3 separate regions of the Homo sapiens genome follow, and all the other regions are linked to region 3. Evidence: promoter capture Hi-C in 16 types of primary human blood cells and fetal thymus (Javierre and others, 2016). All regions are on one chromosome and are shown on one strand. Each heading gives the region's core, a stretch centred on a gene start or on the middle of the fragment in contact. The rest is flanking DNA. Distances are from core to core; before and after follow the strand shown.

Region 1 (4,474 bases), core at 660-3,159, 190 kb after region 3:
TGCACTCCATCCTGGGAGACAGAGTGAGACTCTGTCTCAAAACACAAACAAGCAAAACAAACAAAGCAGAAAGTTTGGCCGGTAACAGAAGTAACACTCAGAAAAATACTCCAGCTGACCTAGAGGAAAGCAAATAACCTCCACTGTCAACTGCAGATGGAGAAGTGCAACCTCTAGGAACTGAAAGCAGTCCCTGATTGGCAACTCACAGGAAAAAGATACCTCAGGCCTACAACCACAAAGAATTGAACTCTGCCATCAAGCGGTGAGCTTGGAAGATATAGGAGCAGGAAAACCACCTCCATCCTCTTACGGTCCTGAGAATTGAGATAAGATAGATTACAGGAAAAAAGCATACACATTTCTTTACAGATGTTTTACAGGAGTCCTCCTAAAATAATGAAGACCCAAAGAAGCAGTTATTGTCAGTTTCTTCCATTCTGGATTGGACGCAATAGTAAACTGTGAACATGTGTAAGGCGAAGGGGCTTGCACTAGGATAGTAAATAGGGTAGGAAAATAGCTAGGAAGAGAAAGGCTTGTTTGTACAGAATTTCCTTGACCTCAACTTTCTCGTCCTTGATGGCAAGGATGTTGCATCTTACTAGTATAGGGAGGGCGTCTTTCACATGGGAATTTAATCTTCTGATTTTAAGAAACAGCATGAAGGTCAAAGTGATCTTTTTGCACCTGCTGTTTTTCAAGTGCCTTTAACTTAAATAATCAGTATTCCAGGATAGCATATTTTAACTCCTTCAAAAAGGTCCCTGAGCCCCAGATGAGATTGTTGGCAGCTCCAGTCAACACAAGCCCAGCCATGCCATAGCTGTATTCTTACCTACAGAACCGTGAGCTAATAAATGGGTATTGCTCCAAAGCTTCTACATTTGTGGTAATTTGTTACGTAGCAATAGAAAACAAATATAATGGCAACATGCAATTTAGTACTTGATCCCTCTCCTGTCATTTACTCATTGTTTTGCATGTATAAATCTTGCCTTCCTTAACCAGATTATAACCTCCCTGAGAACCAGACCAAATTTGATGTTTTTTCTGCATAGCCAAATTATCTACCATGCCATAGGGGCTACACTGGGAGGAAGGTGGGGTGAGTGTTTAACATCCTGGCTTTAGAATCAGCCTGCCTTGATCCTTTTGTAGTTCGTGAGTATGATGACTGGGTGTTCACGGCCGTGTGTGAGATGTGCCACCCTCAAACCTTGTTGCAATGTCAGTGCATTACCTGTCTAACCTGAAAAAAAAAAAAAAGAATCAGACTGTCTTGGCTTAAATCTTGGCTTAAACTTTCTAAGCTTTAGTTCCCTCATTTTAAAATGGGAATAAAATGCGTTAGGAAAATTATGGAAAGATACACAAACATTGTTATCAGCAGTTACTTCAGAGGGAACGATTGCAGGATCAAATATCATAGGAGGTTTTTAGGATTAAATGAAATGATGCTTAGAAAGTTCTTAGGACAGTGCATGGCACATGGTAAAGCTCTATTAATACTAGCTCCGTGTTTGTAGAAAAACAGACCCTTTGACATGCTCGCCCTTCCTGCAGTTCCATATGTGCTAAATTTGTTTAGTATCACATGACACTGGCCCTGTCTCCCTACACACGCCCACGCATCCCCACCTCCACCTCCTGGCCACCCACCAGGGATAGATAGACTAAACCCAGCCATTAGACTTGACTGACAACCAGTTTAATCTCCTGAAAATCTGGAATCAAGCCAGTGAGAGACCACGCTGCTTTGCTGTGTGGGATGAGCTGGAACACCAAACGGAACCACATCTGGATTCATGTCCAGAAAGAGTCAGAGCCACATGCCCGTACTACAGTTACAGAATGGCAGACGTCAAGAGGAAGCTGGTTTCTTTAGAGGAACACAGAGTGGACATGCAGAAAAGGACAGGGATGAAAGACAGTGTCCCCAGAAAAAGGGATGGGACAGTACCTTCCAGGGGCTGGCAGTTTCCAGCACCAGTTCCCACAGTGCCTAGCTGGACTTGTTTCCCCAAGATCTCCATGTCCTCATAAGTGTCCTTTGCAAACAAATAAGCCCTAGCCAAAGAAAGGCTGCTGTGGGTGACAAATCAGACAGTCGGTCATGTTCTAATACATCCTGGGACACCGGGCTCTGGTGCTGACTCCACATCAATGTACAAGACAATTAAATGGTATTTGTAGTCTTTTTCCAGACCTTTTTTCAACTGTCAGCACAGTTGAATTCCCAGTGGCCTCTGGAGGGCACTATTCAGTTAAGTTTATTCCACGGTAGTGAGCACTACACCAGCAGAGCATTTAAGGAAAAGGTGTTTGAAATAATAGTTACCATTTCCTGAGTACCAACAACATGCTAACCACGGTGCTGCTTGCTTTACGTATATTGTATCTTAAACAATCACAACGGCTGTTTCCATCCAGCAATTGGAGATTGTTTTCGAGCATGGTTACTTGTTTCCACAGGCATGCTATTAACAGGTGTCAAGCAAAAGGAAAGCTTTTTTTTTTTCCTCTTTTAATGAACAGGAAGACTGAGTTTACAGCTCCTGATGCGAACCAGTTCAAGTTCAGTTGCCCCTCAATGTACTCCTTTTTAATTAGAAAAACAACAAATGTAGCACCATTGCAACACAGAGGGGAAAAGATATTTGGTACGGGGGTATAAATATCTGGGTCCCTCTTCTCTCTCAAGGTGAGGCAAAATGTTTCCTGTCTCCTGCCTTTTATCCATGCCCCCAAGATAATCGTGTTGGTTTCATGCCCGGCTGTGGGCTGCTAGGGAGTGGGAGCTGCTCCACAGGGAAGAAGTTTTTGTTCTCTACCTTGCTCAATGCCACCGTGGTGGGGAGGGTAGGAGTGAGGCTCCAAACCTTTTCAGGTAACAGTTCCCTGCAAAGTCTGAAAACAACCACTGACCTGTCTCCCTTTTATTTTTTACAAGATATTTGAGGCCAGCCACGGTGGTTCATGTCTGTAATCTCAGCACTTTGGGAAGCCGAGGCGGGTGGATCATTTGAGGTCAGGAGTTCAAGACCAGCCTGACCAACATGGTGAAACCCTGTCTCTACTAAAAATACAAAAAAAATTAGCCAGCTGTGGTGGCACGCACCTGTATTCCCAGCTACTTGGGAGGCTGAGGCAGGAGAATCACTTGAACTCGGAAGGCAGAGGTTGCAGTGAGCCGAGATCACGCCACTGCACTCCAGCCCGGGTGACAGAACAAGACTCTGTCTCAAAAAAAAAAAAAAGATATATGAAACCTGTTTATTCGATATTATCAATGTAAATTAAAACATTTATCAGATATTACCCAAATGAGCCACATGCATTAGGTATATGCTTCTCATTTACTTCTTACAACATCCCTATGAGGTAAGAGGCGAGTATTATTACCTGCATTCACAGATGAGGAAATATAGGCTGAGAAAGATTGGATAAACCCATCTATTAAGAGACAGAGCCTGGAATCGAGCCGGGGTGACCTGCCTCCAAGACCTGAGTCTTTTTTTGCTGGGATGCTCTGTCAATTGCTACCCATATGCCAAATAGTGTGTCTGTCCCTATAGACAGCACGTCCATTCCCCAGAAAGGAGCGTAACCTTCCTGTAGGCAGCAACAATTCTGTAAGTGGCATCCTGGCCAGGGAACCTTGCTCTTTATTCATGAGGTCACTGTCTTGCCACTTCCCCACTATGGAGGGGTGAACCGGGAATCAGAAAATCTGGGTTCTGAACACTTTCTTAATCTATATTTATTCATTTAAGGATATTTACTGACCACCTACTGTTTCAGCTCTGGAACTGCATATTGGGGAAATACTCTTCTATAAAACATATAAAGTCCCTGGTTTTCTGGGGCCTTTATCCGTGCCTTGGAAAACTGACTTATCCTTGTAGGCGTAATTGTGATTAATAACGATATGAAGGAATTTTTAAAGTAAGCTTTCTTGTTATATAATAGCTTTCCTGAGGCTGGGTGTGGTGGCTCATGCCTGTAATCCCAACACCTTGGGAGGCTGAGGTGGGTGGATCACTTGAGATCAGGAGTTCGAGACTAGCCTGGCCAACATGGTAACACCCCGTCTCTACTAAAAATACAAAAATTAGCTGGGTATGGTGGCATGCGCCTGTAATCTCAGCTACTCAGGAGGCTGAGGCAGGAGAATTGCTTGAACTGAGAGGCAGAGGTTGCAGTGAGCTGAGATCACGCCACTGCACTCCAGCCTGGGTGATAGAGCAAGACTCTGTCTCAAAAAAAATAAATAAATAAAAAAATAAAAATAATTTTAAAATGGCTTTACTGAGATGTTCACCTACTATAAAATTTATCCTTTAAAATGTACAATTGAGTGGTTTTATAGATTCACAGCATTGAATATCACCAATATCTAATTTTAGGACGTTTTTATCCTTCCAAAAAGAAGACACATACCTATTACAGGGATTCTCCATACTCCGCTTCT
Region 2 (4,448 bases), core at 357-2,856, 210 kb after region 3:
TTAGTATAAACCTGTGTAAGGAAAGGCACCAGCCCCTGCTAGATGAAGGTTTGCTGGGGAAAGGAACAGTCTCTGGGATACTATCCAGCTTCAACTCTCCTTTATAGAAGGCCCTTCATGGTAACACAGCACTCACTATTATAAAACCATCTGGCAGGGCTGGGTGTGGGCCCCGCCTAGAGGTGAGCAATGGCTGTAATTGATTTTCTGCTTCTGAGTTTACGTTGCCCAATGCCCAGTTCTCAGGGATAGGTCAAAGCAGAAGACCTCTGTGAGTGGGAACAAGTTTCTTTAAACAAGAAACAAGTTTCTTTTATCATATACAACTGAGCACAAATTATTCATGTTTTCGAGACTGTGAAAGGTAGAAATGGAAGAAGATATTGTTACCACGTCAGAAGAATGGGAGATGAGAAGAATTCTTTCTCTCTCTCCGTCAGATGCCAGTAAGCAATCGGACTATCAAACATCTCCAGACATTGCCAAATGTCCCTGCGGGGATAGGGGAAGGGTGTGTAAAATACCTGATTGAGAATCACTGGCTTACAATATCAGGCATCATCCTAGACACTCAGCCTCTCCTCCTCAACAAGCCTTTAAGGTAGACGGTTTAAATATAAGGACAGGAAATGTCAAATGACTTACCCAGAATCTCACGGATAATCATTATGGGATTTGAACTTTAAACCTAGGTCTTTCTTATTCCACTACGTCTCCACACTGCCATATAACACACAGTTCCAACACCAAAGGAACTTCAGAGCTATCTGGAGAGGTGTGATGTGAACCAAGTAAGTTTCAGTGTGTTCCCTGGAGAATGAGTGATGTGAGCACTCAGAAGAGAGAGCTAACAGTGGGAGGGAAGTCAGGGAACGTGTCCTGCACAGATTAGAATGTTCTTTGCATATTTGTGGGCAAACAGTGAGTTTGTGCAGAGAAGTGGCAGGAAGTAAGATCCGGACAGATAGCATTGGGTAGCAATTAAGAGTAAGCACTGGTTCCAGGTAGACTCTCAGATCCAGCTCCTCTACTTATTAGTTGTGTGACCATGAGCTACTTAGATAATCTTGTCCAGTTTCATTGCCTGTAAAATGGGTTGCTGTAATAATAGTACATATTCTAAGATTGTAATAGGGATTTAATGACCTAATACATAAAAGGCTTACAACAGGTCTTGGCATCCTGTATGTGTTCAATACATGCTAGCTACTTAGTACTTGGTTCTGTTGGACTTCAAATAGAGTTTAGAATCTATATTGTAAATAATGGCAGCTTTTGAATCAAGACCTGCAAAGATGTTCCAGAGGCACCACAATCCCCCTTCCTGTGTGCACTGGAAGATCACAAATTAGTATATCTTTGGATCAGAAACCATTCTCCGGTTCCATGAACTGTTCTGTTCCTGGGGAACTATGTCAAATGGTTCAGCCCCTCTGTGGTGGCTTTGGGTTTGAAGCATTTTGTTTGTTTGGTTGGTTGGTTTTTTTCTTTGAGACGGAGTCTCACTCTGTTGCCCAGGCTTGAGTGCAGTGGCGCAATCTCGCCTCACTGCAACCTCCGCATCCCGGGTTCAAGTGATTCTCCTGCCTCAGCCTCCCGAGTAGCTGGGATTACAGGCGTGCACCACTGCACCCAGCTAATTTTTTGTATTTTTAGTAGAGACAAGGTTTCACCATGTTGGCCAGGCTGGTCTTGAACTCCTGACTTCAGGTGATCTGCCCACCTCGGCCTCCCAAAGTGCTGGGATTAGAGGCGTGAGCCACCACGCCTGGCCAGGTTTGAAGCATTGAGGACATCTTCCCAACAGAGCTGCGAAGAGGGAAAGAGACATGGGCATCTGTTCAGACGTCATTCACTCATCCATCCATTCAATCAACATTTACTGAATACCTTTTTAATTCTGGGCATCATGTTTCCATTAACTACATCTGGAACACCAATAAGTCACCACCCCGTCTGTGTGTCAGCTGAAAGTTGATTGGATAGAATTGTCATTGTTTAGTTTCAGGACAATTCAAAGTTATATTTGTGGATTGTGTCAGAATCCTGAGGTTTCTTCTCATGCTTTGCTTGGTGCCACTGCTGGGCCTTGTGTTTGTGGAGAGCTGGTGGCCCTGGATGTGGTCGGGGATCTTCTCCTGGGAATTTCCGCTTTCTTCCTTTCTTCAGCTTTTTACAGCTGCATAAGGTTTAGATCTGTTAGCAAACACTTGTATAATTATGCCCCTCTCTGTTTACAGATTTAGGATAAATTGTCCTAATGGGAAAATATCTGTCCTTTAGAGTAATTTGGATCAAGGCTTTTTATTTTTTGTTTGTGTCTGGTTCACTTGCCTTTCTAAAAATCATTTTGCTGTCTGTTTCACTCATGAATCATCTATTGTTGATATACAACAGCACTCAATAAACCTCGTTAAAAATCTTGTCTTGATCTAAAAGTAGTTGACATTGGGGAAATATGTGACCCATCCATATGCTGTCTCATAGATACTGAATTGAAGGAAACATTGGATTATTGTAAGGCTCTTTGGGGACATCTGATAAGAAGCCCACAGAAATGACAAGCCAGAGGTCTGTGCTGAGCTGTGACATGAGTCTCTGTTCTGTAGGGTGGGGTTTGTTAAAGTTGTCAGGAATAAGGCCTACTTTAAAAGATACAAAATGAAATTTAGAAGACGACAAGAGGGTAAAACCGATTACTATGCTAAGAAACGCTTGGTGATAGAGGATAAAAATAAGTACAACACACCCAAATACAGGATGAGAGTTCGCGTAACAGAGATATCATTTGTCAGATTGCGTATGCCCATGTAGAAGGGGATATGATAGTCTGCACAGCTTATGCACACACTGCCAAAATTTGGTGTGAAGGTTGGCTGACAAATTCTGCTGCAGCATATTGTACTGGCCTGCTGCTGGCTCGGAGGCTTTTCAGTAGGTTTGGCATGGGCAAGATCTAGGAATGCCAAGTGGTGGTGACTGGAGATGAATACAATGTGGAAAGCATTGATGGCCAGCCCGGTGCCTTTACCTGCTATTTGGATGCAGGCCTTGCCAGAACTACCACTGACAATACAGTTTTGGAGGCCCTGAAGGAAGCTGTGAATGGAGGCTTGTCTATCCCTTGCAGTACCAGACGATTCCCTGGTTATGATTCTGAAAGCAAGGAACTTAATGCAGAAGTTAATGCATTGGAAGCACATCACGTGTCAGAATGTTGCAGATTACATGCGTTACCTAATGGAAGATGAAGATGCTTACCAGAAACCATTCTCTCAATACATAAAGAACAGCATAACTCCAGACATGATGGGGATGTATAAGAAGGCTCATGCTGCTATGCAAGAGAATCCAATCTATGAGAAGAAGCCTAAGAAAGAAGTTGAAAAGCAGAGGTGGAACTATCCCAAAATGTCCCTTGCCCAGAAGAAAGATCAGGTAGCTCAAAAGTAGGCAAGCTTCCTCAGAGCTCAGGAGCGGGCTACTAAGACCTAAACCAAACAATTTTCTATGAAGATTTTTCAGATAAAGACAATCAACTTATTTACTAAGCAGCTGAAGAAAAGGAAACAGGAAATGACCGACCAGAGCCTTGACCACCATGCTGGAAAACCTCATTTCAGTTCATGTGTCTTAAGGCATCACAGTCAAGAAGCATTTGTATTCATTCATTCCACAGTCAAACCTACTATATGCAAAGTTAGATTACAGCTGAATAATTAAATGTATAAAGGTGAACCTTGATTTGAATTCTTCAGCTTTGTGGGAGATAGCAATGCACCCTCCCTATCAGAAAGTGAACTTGGGGCCTGGCGCCGTGGCTCACGCCTGTAATCCCAGCACTTTGGGAGGCTGAGGTGGGCAGATCACCTGAGGTCAGGAGTTTGAGACCAGCCTGGCCAACATGGTGAAACCCCGTCTCTACTAAAAATACAAAAACCAGCCAGGTGTGGTGGTGGGCACCTGTAATCCCAGCTACTCAGGAGGCTGTGGCAGGAGAATTGCTTGAACCCGGGAGGCAGAGGTTGCAGTGAGCCAAGATCGTGCCATTGCACTCCAGCCTGGGCGACAGAGTGAGACTGTCAAAAAAAAAGAAAAAAGAAAATGGGCCGGGCACGGTGGCTCACACCTGTAATCCCAGCACTTTGGGAGGTCTAGGTGGGCAGATCACGAGATCAGGAGATTGAGAACATCCTGGCTAACACGGTGAAACCCCGTCTCTACTAAAAATACAAAAAATTAGCCAGGCGTGGTGGCAGGCGCCTGTAGTCCCAGGTACTAGGGAGGCTGAGGCAGGAGAATGGCGTGAACCCAGGAGGTGGAGCTTGCAGTGAGCCGAGATCTTGCCACTGCACTCCAGCCTGGGCGACAGAGCGAGACTCCATCTCAGAAAATGAACTTGGTCCTTCCTTTCCTCTGTTTTGCTGGGAAAAGATGATTATTTCCCC
Region 3 (4,285 bases), core at 267-2,766:
AGGCTGAGAAAACACGGGACAGAGTGGTGGAAGATGGGCCTGGGATTGTGGAAAAAACAGAAAGCACCAGCCCTGTTTGATCCTTCTAGAAGGATTTTTTTGTAGTGTCCCAATGATACCTTTCATTGATAATGGTTACCATTTCATTGAGCACCTCCTAAGTGCTGTGCTGAATAGCTGTGTTACTGCTAGTTCCAGCAATCCTGCATGGTAGGTGTTTTCTCTATTTACACATAGGAAGAGAAGCTCTGAGTGCCTGAGTGCCCAGCTTGTCATATACGATGCTTGGATTTGTGCAAGCATTGATCTCAATGGCCTGGTAATTATAAAAGCTGAAGAACAGCTGAAATCAAGAACTTCTCCACCCCAGCCCCTGAGGACAATACCACCTCCAAATGCCTTGGGCCCACTCTGGTCTCTGGTGTGGTGGGACAGCGCTGTCCGGTCTGCGCAGGTGATTTATGTCTGCCTGCTTTTCGGAGAGGCCAGAGTTTATTGCCTTGCTGGGCAGAACTGCAGCTGGGGCCTGCCCTGTCCCATCCCCATCCCCCCGAAAGCAAAGATTTCCAATTACTGTTCTGTAGAAAATGTCAAAAGCATTATTCAACTATTCATTATCCCAGGTTTTGCAATTTTTCATATGTTTTTACTCTTATCTGCCAGCACTTGAAAAAGACCAGCTTTTTCCTCTTAAGAGAGCTTAATTTGCAGAGCTGTGCAGTCTTCCTATTATGTTCTTATCATCCTCTCCCTTTGGTAGGCAGAATGACAAGGATGACAAAAAAAGAACCAAAAATATTTGAAGGCCTTCCTGAAAATCCACCGGAATGAAGGATCCCAAAAGCCTGAGGCTCGGTTCCTCGAGTGACCTGGACGGGAGCCAAGGGCGGCTGGCATTAGCTCTCACAGTCCACTCGGCAGGAGCTCGTGGCTAGTGCTCATGGGACCAAAACCACCACCCCAGGGCCATGGGATTCCCCCCCAGGGGCTTAACTGGGGGATTAAGCAGCTCTGAGGTGCCAAGAGGTCCCCTCTCCCCGAAATCCTCGTACCAGTGCTAAATTACCTTTGGTATCCCAAGGACCAGAGGCTAAGGGTAGCTTGGGGTGAGTGGTTAGCTCTTCCCCCATCTCCTGTGGCCCCTCCGCCCCATTCTTTGATAAGGTAACTGACATTTTTCTCTTTGCTGTGTAAAGTGCTATGCAGAGGCAACTTCACGTCCCCTAGCTCGCTCTGTTCCACCTAGATGGCGCCCTAAGCCCCGCCTGTATGGAGATTCGGAGCAGCCATCTCCCTGGATGCCTTCCTCCCACGATCCCCAGGTTTCTGAAGCGGGCGCACCAGGACTCCTGGCTCACCCAGAGAGACGCCTTGCCCGCGGCGGGGCTCGCTCGGGGAAATCCCCGCCCACCTTGTTATTCCTGCAGGGGAATCCCCGCCCCCCGTCCCTGTCACTCGGGGAAGGGAGTTCCCGCCCCTCGAATCAACCAGGGGGAGGGAATCCCCGCCCATCCTGGAGGCTCGGCGGATCCCCTGCGCAGCGAGGCGAGGAGCGGACCCCAGCGCCGGTGCGTGCCGGCCCCGGGCAGCGGGACGCGGCGGGGCGGCGGCTGCAGGCAGCCGAGGAGCCGCAGGCCGAACCCAAGGCACCGGGATTGCGCCTCCCGCGGCTGCCGGCGAACCGCGGCTCTGCAGCTCGGGGCAGGCGCGGCGGCGGCACCGGTGGTGGCCGCGGTGGCGGCAGCTGCGCGGGGACCCGCCGGGCGGCGCCTGGGTCTGGACGCGCGAGGAAGCCGCGGGAGCCTCGGCCAAGCCGCGAGCAGGTGAAGCGACCGTCCCGCTGCAGCCGGGACGCGCGGCTCCGGGTGGGCAGGGGATGGGGGAGGCCCGGCACCCCCGAGACCGTGTGTGCCCAGGAAAGTTTAGCTACAAATCCGGGTGCGGGAATCCCAGCCCTGGCAGGGCGGGGAGTGAGGACGCCGAACCGGGGTCCCACGTTGGGCGGCGCAAACTCCTCTAGCATCCGGCCGGGGACGGGGAGGGCGCAGCCCAGGGGAGGGGGCTAGACAGAGCGGGACCGAGACAGCGGGACAACCGGAGACGCACTGCCGGGGGTACTCAAGACAGGGCCGGGACCTCCTGCTCGGGCGCGCATCCCGGGTCCCCATCCCTGGGCCGTCTTCTGGTCCCTTCCTCCGACAGGAGTGGAGGTACTCAGGTACTCCGGCCTCAGGTAATGTCTTGGGGACCATCCTCCCTCGGGCTTGTTTCATCTCTCAACCCCCGCCTCTTTGCCCAGATGAGACGTTAGACGCGGGGCGAGGGAATGCAGGGGGCGCGCAAAGATCAAGGGCATCTTAGGGCCGGTTATTGGCGTCTGCCGGGGAGATGGGGAACATAGTGATAGGGAAATCCTGCTCTCTCTCTGAAGTCGAGTTTCTCCTAAAATCTGGTTTCTCCCTCCCTCTGTTCCTCTCTCCCTCCCTCGGGTTTGCGTTTGTGTTTTAAGTCTTTGAGCTGCCTGTGGTCCCCGCTATTTGGAAAATCCATTAAAGCGCAAGGCTGAATTCAGCAGCAGGAGGGTCCAGGACCCCTGGCAGGAGTTTGCCAGAAGCTGTCCTCGGCAGCCCAAATCTATGCAGAGACCTTGATAAGGGACACTGGAGTGGGAAGAGGACAAGGTCTGGCATGGGCTGGTCGCAGAGACTGGAATGGCAGGCACGAGGGCATTCCAGAGCTCCAGACCTGCCCTGGGACTGGCCGTTGGGCAGTGTTGGGGGATGGAGCTGAGTCTGAGTCTGTCCCCTGCAGCTGGCCTAACCTCTTGCCTCCACCAAAGGTAGGGTAGGTGGATATGTTTGCCTTGACAAATCGCAATGAAACTACTGGAAGTGGTTGCTGAGTGGCTGCAGTAAGTGATGCCCTGATCTGTCCTTGCAGAGAGACCCCCTGGACCTTCAGGGCCTGTTCTCCAGTGGGGTCTCTGAACACTGGAGGGCTTTAGGGGCCTGGCATCTCTACTGGGCCAGCTTTTGTGGGTTGTGACTTCTGGGTGGTGGCCAGATAGGTACAGGTTGGCAGGTGTGAAGTGGGAGTGCTGCTTGTGGGGGCAGAAGAGAATGTCTCAGAACACACCCCTGGCTGTAGGTGGTGGTTCTGGCTTCATGAATTCCTTCTTCCATTAGGATGGGCCCAGAGCTTCTGCTCCTATAATAACCACCTAGTTGTGTGAGTGAGTGTGTGTGTTGCGGGGGTTAGGTGTAGGAGTAGGGGGGTGGCAGGTGCTAGGAGAGGAAAAATCAGAACCATGTAAAGTATATAAATGTACCTACCTTGACATAGTTAATATGCTCCTGGAAAAATATTGAATTATACTTTAAATCTATCGCTGAAATTGATTTTGCATGTACTTTATGGCAGTTTACTATTTAAGGAAACTTATGATAATTTCTCTGTTCATTTCAATCATTTTATTTTTGGAATACCTGTGGTTTGCTGTGCTGGAGGCTGAGGAGGCTTCGAGGTTCCAGGATATGCTTAGATGAAAGATGCTCCCTCGCTGCTGTCAGTTTGTCAGTTTCTGTCCAGCAGGAGAAGGGAGAGAAGCCTGCTAAGCACTATGGTGCAGACCAGTGCACATGCTGCATGTAGTAGACGCCATGTGTTTATTGGATGAAGGAGTGAAGAGATAATTAAGTGAGTAAAGTACCTGAAGAGTGGTCCAAATAAAACATTTTGGGAGTATGGAGGAAAAAGAAGTCACTTTTGCCAGAGAGGATCTGAAAGGCTTTGTGGAGGAGCTCTTAGGTAGAAGTCGAGAGGTTGATCCTGAGTTAGGACTCAGTGCTAAGGACTCAGAGGAACTAAGGACTCAGAGGAACTAAGGACTCAGAGGAACTTAGTTCTCCAGATAGTAGGGAGATGTGTGAGATATTTTTTTTTTTTGAGACTGGGTCTCATTGTTGCCCAGACTCAAGCAATCCTCCCACCTCAGCCTCCTGAGTAACTGGGATCACAGGTGTGTGTTACCACAACCAGATAATTTTTGTGTTTTTTGTGGAGATGGGTTTCACCATGTTGCTTATGCTGGTCTCGAACTCCTGGGCTCAAGTGATCCTGGTGTCTTGGTCTCCCAACGTGCTGGAATTAGAGGCATGAGTCACTGCGCCCAACCTGGCCCCTCGTTCTGCTCCTACACAACCCTTTAGCACACTCACCATGCTGCCCTGGGTGTGTTTCTTTAGGGCCTTATTTTTTTCATACCCAGATAAGGCCTGGAACAGTT

What was found. The method cuts DNA at HindIII sites, captures the fragments that hold promoters and counts their contacts. A CHiCAGO score of 5 or more calls a contact.
Region 1: a contact is called between a fragment that was not itself captured here and the fragment with the promoter of PDZD2 in region 3, in 6 of 17 cell types (megakaryocytes, M1 macrophages, erythroblasts and 3 more). The highest score is 10.2, in megakaryocytes.
Region 2: a contact is called between a fragment that was not itself captured here and the fragment with the promoter of PDZD2 in region 3, in 1 of 17 cell types (megakaryocytes). The highest score is 5.0, in megakaryocytes.

Annotation. Positions count from the first base shown.
Region 1 is chr5:31,823,430-31,827,903 of GRCh38, forward strand. All of the region lies in intron 2 of PDZD2 (PDZ domain containing 2), which reads left to right. It overlaps LOC124901200 (small nucleolar RNA U13), which reads left to right and starts at 1,150; the gene lies at 1,150-1,253. The HindIII fragment of the contact is 1,196 bases long and covers 1,312-2,507 here.
Region 2 is chr5:31,844,661-31,849,108 of GRCh38, forward strand. All of the region lies in intron 2 of PDZD2 (PDZ domain containing 2), which reads left to right. It also overlaps the pseudogene RPL5P14. Among named protein-coding and RNA genes, the nearest start is that of MIR4279, 89 kb to the right of the region's middle. The HindIII fragment of the contact is 3,699 bases long and covers 1-3,456 here.
Region 3 is chr5:31,637,615-31,641,899 of GRCh38, forward strand. PDZD2 (PDZ domain containing 2) reads left to right here and starts at 1,517. Exons shown (of 25, transcript NM_178140.4): 1 at 1,517-1,823. RefSeq lists a silencer at 1,471-1,820. The HindIII fragment of the contact is 6,072 bases long and covers 1-4,285 here.